Regions from separate parts of the Homo sapiens genome. Here all the other regions are linked to region 3. Evidence: promoter capture Hi-C in human tissues and cell types (Jung and others, 2019). All regions are on one chromosome and are shown on one strand. The core of a region is centred on a gene start or on the middle of the fragment in contact, and the rest is flanking DNA. Distances in the headings are between cores, read along the strand shown.

Region 1 (4,018 bases), core at 312-2,811, 430 kb after region 3:
CCTAGCTGGGATTACAGGCGCCCCACCACCACACCTGGCTAATTTTTGTATTTTTAGTAGAGATGCGTTTTCATCATGTTCGCCAGGCTAGTCTTGAACTCCTGACCTCAAGTGATCCGCCCGCCTTGGCCTCCCAAAGTGCTGAGATTACAGGTGTGAACCACTGCACCTGGCCAAAAACTGTTCTTTTTAAAAATTGAGATATAGGCTGGGCATGGTAGCTCATGCGTATAATCCCAGCACTTTGGGAGGCCAAAGCAGAAGGATCACTTGAGCCCAGGAGTTCGAGAACAGCCTGGGCAACATAGTGAGAACTCGTCTCTACAAAAAAATACAAAAATTAGCTGGGTATGGTGGCTCACACCTGTAGTCCCAGATACTCAGGAGGCTGAGGTGGGAGGATTGCTTGAGCCTGGGAGGTCAAGGCTGCAGTGAGCTGTGATTGTACGACTGCACTCCAGCCCGGGTGACAGAGTGAGACCCTGCTTCAAAAGAAAAATAAAATAAAAATAAAAATAGAGATATAATTTGCACAGCATAATATCCTTTTAAAAGTGTACATTCAGTAGATTTTAGTATATTCACAATGTTGTGCAACCATCATCACTATTTTATCACCTCAAAAAGAATTCCTGCAGCCATTAAGCCGTCACTGTCCTTTCCCTCCCTCCCCAGCTCCTGGCAACCATAAATCTGTCTCTATGCATTTGCCTATTCTGGATATTTCATATAAATAGAATCATACACTATGTGGCCTTTTGTGATTGACTTTTTTCACTCAGCTTGTTTTCAAGGTTTATCTATGATGTAGCCTGTATCAGTAGTTAATTGCTTTTCATGACTGAATAATATTCCACTGTATGGATATGCTACATTTTGTTTATCCATTCATCACTTGGACATTTAATTTGTTTCCTTTTTTTGCCTGTTATGAATAATGCTGCTATGAACACTGACATACAAGTTTTTGTGGGGGTATGTTTTCAAATCCCTTTCGTGTATATACCTAGGAGTAGAATTGCTGGGTCATATGCAAAGCTAATCATTTCTTGAACATTTACTAACACTGTAGGTATGACCCAGAAGGAGACATGTAACCTGCCTAGGCCTCAGTTTCTTCCTTAGTAAAACAGGGATGGTAACAGCACCCATTTTATAAGGTAGTGAGAATTAAATAAAATAATGCATCCACCGCGCTTAGTACAGCATCTGGCACACAGCTGGCTAAGTAGAGTAAGTTGAATGACTAGGGAGGGGGCCTCATCTCTGACCCTTCGCTGGGCCTCCGTTGACATCTGCAAATCAGGGGAGTGGGACAAGCGGGCCCCTGCCCGACAAGCTCTGCGCCTCTCAGGCTGGCGGTCCGCTGCAGAGGCTCCTGGACACCTTAGCCACCAAGATTCTGCAGAGCGGTGTTCAGGAGGGAAGCCCTGCCCAATCCGCAGGCCTGCGACCGGGGACGCTCACCTGCAACTTCTCCCGCCACTCTTTCAACTGCCACGCAGGGCCCGGAAGTAGATCTCCTGATAGCGGAAGTAGAAACTTTTCGAGACCGGAAGTGAGTGATCGAAAGCATGGCGTCGGTGGTGTTGGCGCTGAGGACCCGGACAGCCGGTAATGGGACGCAGTAGTCAGAGCGGGGTGAGGCGGGGAGGCAGAGTGGAGCTCCAGCAGGGAGGGAAGGAGGTGACACTGATCCCCGCGGAGGACCTTGGATGCGAGGGGAAGTGTGTGGGGTACTCCAGGTTTGAGGGACGGTGTCGCTGGTCACGTGACACATCCTGGGTGGAGCCGTGAGTGAGGGCGTTTGAAGAGCACTTGTCTTTCTCCTGCCTCAGCAGCACGGACGGGTTCCTTGGCGGTTGGGGATTTGGGTGGGTCCTTTCTCTGTAGAAGTATTAGTAACATTGGCATATTGGGGTTGAAAAAATTAATCTATTGATTCAGCAGATTGAGGTCTTACTTTGTGCTAGACACGGCGGTAGGTGTTCGGAAAATCAGCAGAAAACGTGAAGACTTGGCTTCTAGCCCCCGAACGGTTCTCTCTGGTGCATAAGGCAATAAATGAACATATAAAGTAGATGTAGACTGGCAAGTGCTGTGAAGAAGGATAATGTGTGTCTGTGTGTGTGTCTTTTTTTAGATTGGACGGTGAAGGAAGGCTTCTGAGGAGATAACATTTAAAACCTAAAGAATGACAGGCGGGGCGTGATGGCTCACGCCTGTAGTCCCAACACTTTGGGAGGCCTAGGTGGGCGGATCGCTTGAGCCCAGGAGTTCAAGACCGACTGGGCAACATGGCAAAACCCCATCTCTACAAAAAATACAAAAATTAGCTGGGTGTAGTGGCGCTTGCCTGTGGTCTCAGATACTCAGGAGGCTGAGGTGGGAGGATCACCTGAGCTCGGGAGGTCGAGGTTGCAGTGAGCTATGTTCATACCACTGCACTCCAGCCTGGGTGACAGAATGGGGCCCTATCCCCCCCCCCCAAAAAAAAAAGAATGACAGGAGACCTAGACCTGTGTAGAGTGAGGGACAGGAGAGTGACTTGAGCCAGTTTTACATTTTGAGAAGCAAACTATTGCTCTTATGTAAATTTAAAGGGGATAGGAGTGGAAATGAGGAAATCAAATGGAAAGTCGTAATAGCCCTGAGGAGAGATGATTTAGCCAAGATGTTTGTGGTGGCAGTGAACTTGGAGGAAAACGGATGAATTTGAGATCTGTTTTGGAGTTAGCATCCACAGAGCTTGCTGGTGAACAATATGTGAGGACAGCAAAGAGAAGGAATCTGCAATGACTCTGGTTTCTGCCTAAGCAACTGGATGAATGGTGGTACCATTTACTTTGAGGAGGAGGATGGGGAGTAGGGTGAAGAGCAAAGATTTGTGAGTGAGATAATGTAAGTAAAGTAAAAGCCCAGCTCCTGAGCTTAGTAAGTATGTAAATGAATGAATAGATGTTTAAAGGTAGGTAGATCCTGGCGCCGGGCATGTTTTAACATGTTGTCTTTCTGAGTCCTTATCTCTGGTCCTTTGCCCCAGCTAGTCTCTGGTGTCATGGAAATGTCAGAAACCCAGGCTTCAGGAACTCTGAACTTATAGGCTCCAGAGACCCACAAGGCTTCTCTAAAGACACTGGCATGGACCTTAAATCATGGCTGTGTCTGGAGACCTGCAGGCAAGGAGTTGCACCCCTAGGCTTGTCATACAGCAAGGGACTACCATCTTAGTATGAATTTTAGTTCATTTTACTTCTGCAAATGAATGCTATTGAGCACTTTGGAATGAGTATGGAGAGGTCAGATTAACAAGGGCAGTGTGTGGGTCATGGTTGGACCTCTGCTTGATGTGCTTTGAGAAGAAAGGGCCCAGCCTTCTGAAATGGCCAGGACCCTGTGGGAGCCACTTTTAGGCCAGCCATCCTTTTGGTTTACTAGTATTTGGTGAGCAGTGGATGAGTGGACAGCTGAGAAAGTCATGGGTGAGGCCTGTAATCCCAACACTTTGGGATCACCTGAGGTCAGGAGTTCGAGACCAGCCTGGCTAACATGGTGAAACCCCGTTTCTACTAAAAATACGAAAAATTAGCTGGGCGTGGTGGCGTACACCTGTAATCCCAGCTACTTGGGAGGCTGAGGCAGGAGAATCGCTTGAATCCGGGACGCGGAGGTTGCAGGGAGCCAGGACTATGCCATTGCACTCCAGCTTGGGCAACAAGAGTGAAGCTCCGTCTTTAAAAAAAAAAAAGAAAGAAAGTCGTGGGTGAGCCTGAAACCGAAGCCTTTCTGGATGTACTGGGCTCCCCAAGTCTGTTCTGGCCCCTCCGTGGTGCATGAGGGTGAGTGAGCCTCTGAAGCAGGCAGCTCTCTGGTGTCCATTTCTCCTCAGCACATTTAGACTGAATGTGTCAGAACCCAGAACACATGATGTTTATTTTTTTCCATTTGTGTTTCACTGCTCCCCCGCCCCCTCCCCCAAAAGGAGAAAGCCAAGGACTTAGAGGTATTCCCTGAGAAC
Region 2 (4,354 bases), core at 510-3,009, 410 kb after region 3:
GGTGTCTGCTGGGCTCCCGATCCAGTGAGGCGCCCATTGCTGCTCTGGATCAGGCTAAAGGCTTGCCATTGTTCCTGCGTGGCTAAGTGCCTGGATTTGTCCTAATTGAGCTGAATAGAGCTATAACACTCATTGCATGGCCCAAGATTCCATTCCTTGGAATGCGTGAGGCCAAGAAACCCAGGTCAGAGAACAAGAGGCTTGCCGCCATCTTGGAAGTGGCCCGCCACCATCTTGGGAGTTCTAAGAACAAGGACCCCTGCCACCCACCCCCCGTAACAATTGCACTTACTTTATTTGGTGTTCATAGTTTCCCTCTGAGACAAGATTTTTTATTTTTTATTTTTTTAGAGATGGGGTCTTGCTATGTTGCCCAGACTGGTTTTGAACTCCTAGCCTCAAATAATCCTCTCATCTTGGCCTCCCAAGTATTGGGATTACAGGTGTGAGCTATCCTGCTCGGCCCCTCTGAGATAAGCTTTAATATCCCTATTTCAAAATGAGTAAACTGAGGTTTGGAGTGGGTAAAGTGCTTCCTTCCTTCATTCATTCATTCATTCATCCATCCATCTATTCATTTATTCAACAGACATCTGAATGAGTAGCTACCCTGCATCAGGGTATGCCAACTCTGGGCATACGAAGATGATTAAGACAAAAATCCCTGTCCTCACAGTCCAGAATGAAGGACAGACACATAAAGATGAGTATAATACAAGGTGGATCATGAATTGTAGCTAATATTTATTGGGTACTTACTAAGTGCCAGTGACTGCTGTAAGCTCTTGGTGTGTTTTACTCCTTCAGTTCTCCCCAACCTCTGTTAGCTACATGTCTCATAGATTGATTCATAGATAAGACTGAAGCCTGGTGATTGTCTACGGTTTTATAAGTAGCAAGTGGCAGAGCCAGGATGAATACCCAGTGGATAGGTATTAGTGCCAGAGGTCCCACTTGGCCATCAAGCTCTACTGTCTCTGATGATAAAGTAGCAAACAGGGACCTAAGTTGGTTGGGGGGGGCGCTAACTCAGTCTGGCATTCACGGTGTTCAGGGGAGATTTCCTGAAGGACTAAGGAATTAGCTAGACAGAGGTGAGTGGGGGGGAGGGAGGGCCATCGCTGGGGAGGGCCAGACGTGGGAGCCACCTCCTGGAAATCTACACAGCATCTAGGCCAGGCAGGGACTGGAGCGTGTGAGGAAGCTGCGAAAGCAGGCAGGACCCAGCTTCCAAAGGAAAGTGGTCCGTATCCTAGAGGTAGCTGCAAGTTTGAAGGGTTTTACGTAGGGGAGAGACTTGGCCAGATTTTTAGAAAGATCACCGGGGAGCTGGGTGAAAGTGGATGGAAGGACAGAGACAAGCACTGAGGCAGTGAGTGGGGAGGAGAGAGGAGAAATTCAGGAAGAAGAGTTTTCCCCATGATGGTTATTCGGGGGTTAAGTAGAGGACAGGGAGCAGTTTTAGAGGACACCCAGCTTCTGCTCCTAATCAGGGGGATTGGGGTGATCTGATGAGGTCAGTATTGGATGTCAACCCAGTCTTCTGGCGCCCAGTCCGTGCCCTTTCGCCTCGTGGCACTGCCAGCAATAATGCCCGCGGGCCACGGGTGAACGTGAACCGAGCTCGCAGCCTCCAACCCCACCCCTCCGGCGGCGGCGACGTGCAGTGCATCACCCTGGGCACCAGGGGGCGTGCCCGCACACGCTCGGGCCGCTCTGGCCCAGCCCATCTCAGTGGTCGCGGAAGGTGACGTGGACACGGAAGTGGTCGTCGTCGCGGCACCGGTGGGAGCTAGGCGCGAGGCTCGGAGTGCGGCCAGCGGGCGGAGGCGGTCTCGCATCGGCGGCGACGGAGGGCTCAGGCGTCGTCGTTTGGGTGGGGGGCCGCTGAACTGACAAGCGACATTTCAGCTCCTTTCACCCGCCGGAACCCCGGAGCCGGGGCCCGCTCAGCCGGCGTTACCATGACCAAGGCCGGTAGCAAGGGCGGGAACCTCCGCGACAAGCTGGACGGCAACGAACTGGACCTGAGCCTCAGCGACCTGAATGAGGTCCCGGTGAAGGAGCTGGTCAGTATCGTCCCGCGAGGCCCAGGCGCCCACCTTCGCCGGGCGCTGGCCCCTACGTGGGCCACTTACTTTCCTCTTCTCTAAAAGCATCAGTTTCCTTTTCTTTAAAAAGAAGCGGGGTGGTGGGACTAAGTCCCCTAGGAGGCCGCGTCCAGCCCAAGGTTCTTCCCGGGATGTACACGTGTCACTTTGGCGCAGTTCCAGAACATAGGGAAGATCTGCTTCTCTGGCCCTAGGCTTTTTACAGGCTAAGAAGCGAATCTGTCACCTTTGCGGGGCTTTCACAGCGCCCACCTCCGTGCCCGACTCTGAGTAGGAGCACACGGAGCAGTTACTGGATGTATTCGAGAATGAATGAGTGACTTGTTCCAGGGGAGTAGGCCTCCTGGTAGACCTGGGTGTGGCCCAGAACCTGGCTCTTCTAGGAAGCTGGCAATTCCAGCTGGCTGCCCGAGCCCTGAGGCAGCCTAACTCGAAGAAAGTAAAGTCTCCCCCCAGCTTGGCTGGTAAACTGTCATCTGAATTCCGCTGAAACTGGCGGGAGTCCCTTTCGCCCCTCTCTCCCCCAACCTTTCCCCTGTAAACTGAAGCTTACAGCTCCAGAGAGATAGCAGGCATCTAGTTTTGTCAGCGTGGAGCTAGTTCCCACATCCCTCCTTTTCCCACTCCGTTCCCCCTCCCACCCGCGCCAACGCCCTACTAGACTCACTTTGGGTGACCCACACTTTGCTTTCTGCCGTTGATAAATTACATTTGCCTTGGGCGCTGGGCCCAGTCTTTCTTCCACCGTGGACGGGTATTACAGTGGTTAGAACCGGGTTCCTAGCTCCTCCCAGCTCCATTGCTTAATAGCCGAGTGCCCTTGGCAAGCTAGTTAGCCTTTATGCCTAGATCTCCTCATCTATACAATGGTGATAATAGTTTCCATCTCATACGCTTATTGGGAGGTTAAATACCATTGTAATGGAAAATGCTTGGAAGGAGCAAATACTGATACTTGTAGCTGTTGTTGTGTTTTTCCCGCTGTAGTATTTAAAACTTTTTTAGGTGGTCAAACTTCACTTTTACGACTTTGTGACAGAAAGTGCAGGTTGCCAGAGGATCCTTAACTGAATATATGCCTCCTTTTCTACCCCAGGAAGATAGATGGCCAGCCTTATTTCACCCTGCCCTAGGACTGCTCTCTGAAACCATATACTCCAGGCATCTGAACAGTCCAGCATTAACCTTAGGGAGAAAGTTTTGCTGAGCTTGTCCAGCCTGGACACCATGGGAAAATAGAGATGGGCTGTGAGGGCCTTTTTTTTTTTTGGATGATGGAGTTTTGCTGTTGTTGCCCAGGAGTGATCTCGGCTCACTGAAACCTCTGCCTCCCGGGTTCAAGCGATTCTCCTGCCTCAGCCTCCCGAGTAGCTGGGATTACAAGCGTGTGCCACCATGCCTGGCTAATTTTCTATTTTTAGTAGAGACAGGGTTTCTCCGTGTTGGTCAGGCTGGTCTCGAACTCCTGACTTCAGGTGATTGCCTGCCTCAGCCTCCCAAAGTGGTGGGATTACAGGCGTGAGCCACCGCACCCGGCAGGGCCTTGTTTTTTCACTCTGTCATTCACTCCGCTACTTACTCGATCAGTCATGATTCAGGCAACATGTATGGATATTGAGTACCTGTTCTGAGGAAGGGCCTGAACTGGGGAATATGGAAATTGCAAAGCTTTATTAGACACTGTCCCTGCCCTGAAACCTAATAAGAGGGACGCTGGGTAATATTTATTTTTAAAGTGCTAGGAATAATGTCTAAGAATCTAAATTTTGCTTGCCTGCCTGCCTGCCTGCCTTCCTTTCTTTTTTTTTTTTTTTGAGATGGGGTCTCACTGTGTTGTGCAGGCCGGCCTCAAACTCCTGAACTCCTGGGCTCAAGCGATCCTCCTGTCTCAGCTTTCTGAGTAGCTGAGACTATGAGACTACAGGTGTGAGTCCCTGTGCCTCGCCTAAGGTTTACCTTCTTGGAGGTTGTACAGCCACATCCCTTCTCTTTGCATTCTTCCTTAGATCATGGTTGACTGGCTTATTTTTCCTCTTATTCCCAGGAACATTACTCTTTACTGCCATTTTAAAAGGCCTTTCCTAATCATGGGAACATTCTCTGGAAAATGCTTCATTAACATATGTCAGTGAATTGTTCCAGATGTTGGTCTGACATGTTTTTCTCATCCTCTTTTACCTAGGCTGCCCTTCCAAAGGCCACCATCCTGGATCTGTCTTGTAATAAACTGACTACTCTACCGG
Region 3 (3,976 bases), core at 409-2,908:
CATGTGTTTGTCTGAAGGAAGCTCATCTTTTTTCTTATTATTGTGATGAAACACACATAATATAAATTTTACCATTTTAACCATTGTAGGTATGCAATTCAGTGGCATCGAGGACATTCACATTGTTGTGCAACCATCACCACTACCTAGTTCCAGAACTTTTTCATCATCCCCAAAGGAAATCCATTAGCCATCACTCCCATTCCCCCTCCCCACAGCCCCTGGCAACCGCAAATCTGCTTCCTGTCTCTGTGGATTTGCCTATCTAAACATTTCACATAAATGGAGTCATACAATATTGGCCTTTTTGTGTCTGGCTTCTTTCATTTAGCATGAGGTTTGCAGGGTTCATCTATACTGTGGTGGGTGTCAGTACTTCACTGCTTTACATGGGTGAATAATATTCTGTTGTTTGTTGGTTCTTTTTTTTTTTTTTTTGAGATGGAGTCTCACCCTGTCACTCAGGCTGGAGTGCAGTGGTTCGATCTCGGCTCACTGCAGCCTCCGCCTCCCGAGTTCAAGTGATTCTCCTGCCTCAGCCTCCCGAGTAGCTAGGATTACAATTGTGCACCACCACGCCTGGCTAATTTTTGTATTTTCAGTAGAGACAGGGTTTCACCATGTTGGCCAGGCTGGTCTCAAACTCCTGACCTCAAGTGATCCACCCACCTCGGCCTCCCAAAGTGCTGGGATTACAGGCATGAGCCACTGCGCCCAGCCTGTTGTTTGTAGGTTCTACATTGTGTTGATTCATTCATCAATTTTTGGATATTTGGATGGTTTTCTACTTTCGGCTGTTTCTGGCCAGAGCCCCACAGCGCCCCCTCTAGACCCTCCATACTCATCTCTGAGTGAGGCAGTCATGCAGCCAGCGGGCCTCCAAGCTTCTGTGCCAAGTCAAACAAGAGTTTGACCCTAATCCAACACAGAGAAAATTTGGCAACGCTAAGCCAAGTTCCTTGGTGAGGCGCACATTTGCCTCTTGATCTGCCGCATGCCCTCTTCAGGGAACACCCTTTCTTCCTGGGGGCAGCTTCTCCCCCTATTCCAACCACGTGGCCCTAGTGGGGCTGCCATGCCATCCCGGAACCCTACCTGATGCAGGGTCTCTGCAGCTCAGCCTTTCCCACATGCGGAGCGGCCAAGTGTGCAGCTGAAGTTTTTGGTTGATTCTAGCAAATTCCCCCTTTCTGCCCAAGCTGGCTCATGTTGGATTTTGTCACTTTCAAGCCAGAGTCCTCACGGGGGCAGCTCCATCTCCCACCACAAATCCCAGGTGCTCCCTGAAGTGGAGAAAATGGGGCATCCTGCCTGGGCCCAGACTAGCACCCCCCCACAATATAATAACTCTGTGGGGTCCCCAGGTGTTTCATTTAACTTTGAGCTTCCTGGATGAACAGCATGGAGCTCCAATATTCATAAAAACTGGACCTCTGGGGCACGCCCAGGCTTGTCGAGACCCTGGAGGTCAGAAAGTGCAAGAAAGTTCTCCAGGTGTTCCTTGGACAGTTTGCACCTGGTAACTGACCCTTGGCTTGTGGGATTCCCCCCACCCCATGTCATTCCCCCCACCCCATGTGGCTAATGAATGGATCCTGCAGGGAGTCACCATTCGCCTGGATAACGTCCTTGGGTGCCGTCCAGTGGGGCCTGGAAAAAGTTGCTGGCTTAGGCAGCATCGCCTCCAAGCCAGCTGTTCCTAAGGACTGTGTTCCCACATGCAGAACACCTGGGCCCTCCTCTGTCCAGCCAGGACTTCTGCGTGTGCTGAACTGGCTATTGACACTTCCTAGGTAGATTCCCCAGTGTCTGTCTGACCAGCAACCCTCCTCACCTCCTCCTCAGAACTTATTGTGGAATCAGAAAGTATAAGATTTCCCCTTGGGGACGAGTAGTACAGAATGAGTCCAGGTGTGGTGGCTCACACCTGTAATCCCAGCACTTTGGGAGGCTGAGGCAGGGGATCACTGGAGGTCAGGAGTTCAAGACCAGCCTGGCCAACATGGTGAAACCCTGTCTCTACTAAAAATACAAAAGTTAGCTGGTCATGGTGGTGTGCGCCTGTAGTCCCAGCTACTCAGGAGGCTGAGGCAGAATTGCTTGAATCTGGGGGGTGGAGATTGCAGTGAGCCGAAATCACACCACTGCACTCTAGCCTGGATGACAGGGCAAAACTCTGTCCAGACTCTGTCTAAAAAATAAAAAAAAAAACTGTAGGGCACGGTGGCTCACGCCTGTAATCCCACCACTTTGGAAGGCCAAGGCGGGCAGATCACCTGAGGTCGAGAGTTCAAGACCAGCCTGGCCAACATGGAGAAACCCCATCTCTACTAAAAATACAAAAGTAGCCAGGTGTGGTGGTGCATGCCCGTAATCCCAGCTACTTGGGAGGCCGAGGCAGGAGAATCGCTTGAATCCGGGAGGTGGAGGTGGAGGTTGCGGTGAGCTGAGATTGCGCCATCACACTCCAGCATAGGCAACAAGAGTGAAACTCTGTCTCAAAAAAAAAGTACAGAATGACAATTATGAAAATCAATTTTGTTTAATCTTTTCTAAAATGGAACAATGAACCAAGCAATTTCCTGGGCCCAAAAAAAGAAGCAGTATTGCGGTTATTAAAATAGTGTTTACTTTGTGCTGATGGGAAAAGATGTGAAATATTAATGACTCCACGGAGCCCCGATTATGTGACTCATTAGGCAAAGGCCCTATGTGCAATTAAAGTAGACTCTTCAGTGTCTATCTTAAGTGACTTTGTGTTTTGTCCAGCCACTCCATACACAAGGATGAGTGGCCAGGTGCAGAGGCTCATGCTTGTAATCCCAGCACTTTGGAAGGCCGAAGCAGGAGGATCGTGAAGCCTAGGAGTTCGAGACCAGCCTGGGCAACATAGTGGGACCCTCATCTCCATAAAAAAAAAACCAAAAAAGCAAAAACAACAAAAAAAAAAGAGAGAGAAAAAGATAATTTTTGTTGTTCTAATTTTTTTCTACAGAGCCTTTTTCATATAACTTTGTGCCTCGGGTTCCTCATCTGTACAATGGGATAATAGTACTTACTCCATAGGAATATTTTGAGGATTTACGACATATAACTCACTTAAAAACTGTGCCTGATGCCGGGCGTGGTGGCTCACGCCTGTAACCCCAGCACTTTAGGAGGCCAGGGAAGGCGAATCACTTGAGGTCAGGAGTTCATGACCAGCCTGGCCAACATGGTGAAACCCTGTCTCTACTAAAAATGCAAAAAATTAGCTGCAAATCGCTTAAACCTGGGAGGCGGAGCTTGCAATGAGCTGAGATCTGCCACTGCACTCTAGCTTGGGCGACAGAGCGAGACTCCATCTCAAAAACAAACAAACAAACAAAAAACTGTGCCTGAAAAGTAGGAACAATAAAATACATGAGTCATTATCATCCCCATTATCATCATTATAAATCTCGAGGATGTAGAACACACTTTAGGTAACTGAGTGAAATGAAGCTCGATAGCACAGGACACAGTCATGGTTCAGGACCTGCACCCACTGTCAATCACTTCAGCTGCAAATACGCTCAGCAAACTCACTGGGTTCTTGTCCTTTGTTTTGTGTTTCTTTTTCCCCATCTAAACTAGGTCCCTCTGTTTCACTTACTAAGCGAGACCAGTCTGCTGTTTTTCTCTGCAGATACTGGCTTTAAGAAAAAGGTGCCTCTGGCTGTTTCTGAGTTTTAATGAAAGCAAAGCTTCTTTCTTTCCCCAAGACTCTGCCGCAGGCTGCAGGGTGAGGCCTGTGATTCAAACTGAACTCGTTTCTCCCACCTAAAGAGGTTACAAGCCAGACCCTTTGGATCTCTTTCTCCGGACTTTTCTGCCAAGCTTGCCTCACAGGTGCAGGGGGCAGGACTGGAAGGAGGTGGCCTGGAGCTGCTGAAGCCCACAGGGGCTGGGTCTCTAACGGTGGCCTGTGAGGTCTTCAGAGACACCCCAGTTGCTG

The links. Contacts are between HindIII fragments. The study calls those that stand out against the background at their distance.
Region 1: a contact is called between the fragment with the promoter of MRPL27 here and a fragment that was not itself captured in region 3, in 2 of the 25 tissues and cell types used here (dorsolateral prefrontal cortex and lymphoblastoid cells).
Region 2: the fragment with the promoter of LRRC59 here is called in contact with a fragment that was not itself captured in region 3 in 1 of the 25 tissues and cell types used here (pancreas).

Annotation. Positions count from the first base shown.
Region 1 is chr17:50,370,727-50,374,744 of GRCh38, reverse strand. It overlaps MRPL27 (mitochondrial ribosomal protein L27), which reads left to right and starts at 1,561. Exons shown (of 4, transcript NM_016504.3): 1 at 1,561-1,614. The coding sequence starts at 1,575. It overlaps EME1 (essential meiotic structure-specific endonuclease 1), which reads right to left and starts at 1,516. Exons shown (of 9, transcript NM_152463.4): 1 at 1,468-1,516. RefSeq lists enhancers at 1,198-1,417, 1,558-2,027 and a silencer at 3,811-3,972. The HindIII fragment of the contact is 32,602 bases long and covers 1-4,018 here.
Region 2 is chr17:50,394,928-50,399,281 of GRCh38, reverse strand. LRRC59 (leucine rich repeat containing 59) reads left to right here and starts at 1,759. Exons shown (of 7, transcript NM_018509.4): 1 at 1,759-2,069; 2 at 4,294-4,353. The coding sequence starts at 1,965. LRRC59-AS1 (LRRC59 antisense RNA 1) reads right to left here. Exons shown (of 2, transcript NR_199069.1): 1 at 4,290-4,354; 2 at 725-2,066. RefSeq lists a silencer at 1,713-1,782. The HindIII fragment of the contact is 9,986 bases long and covers 1-3,219 here.
Region 3 is chr17:50,803,420-50,807,395 of GRCh38, reverse strand. No RefSeq gene overlaps it. Among named protein-coding and RNA genes, the nearest start is that of WFIKKN2, 30 kb to the left of the region's middle. RefSeq lists a silencer at 1,008-1,229. The HindIII fragment of the contact is 6,487 bases long and covers 1-3,976 here.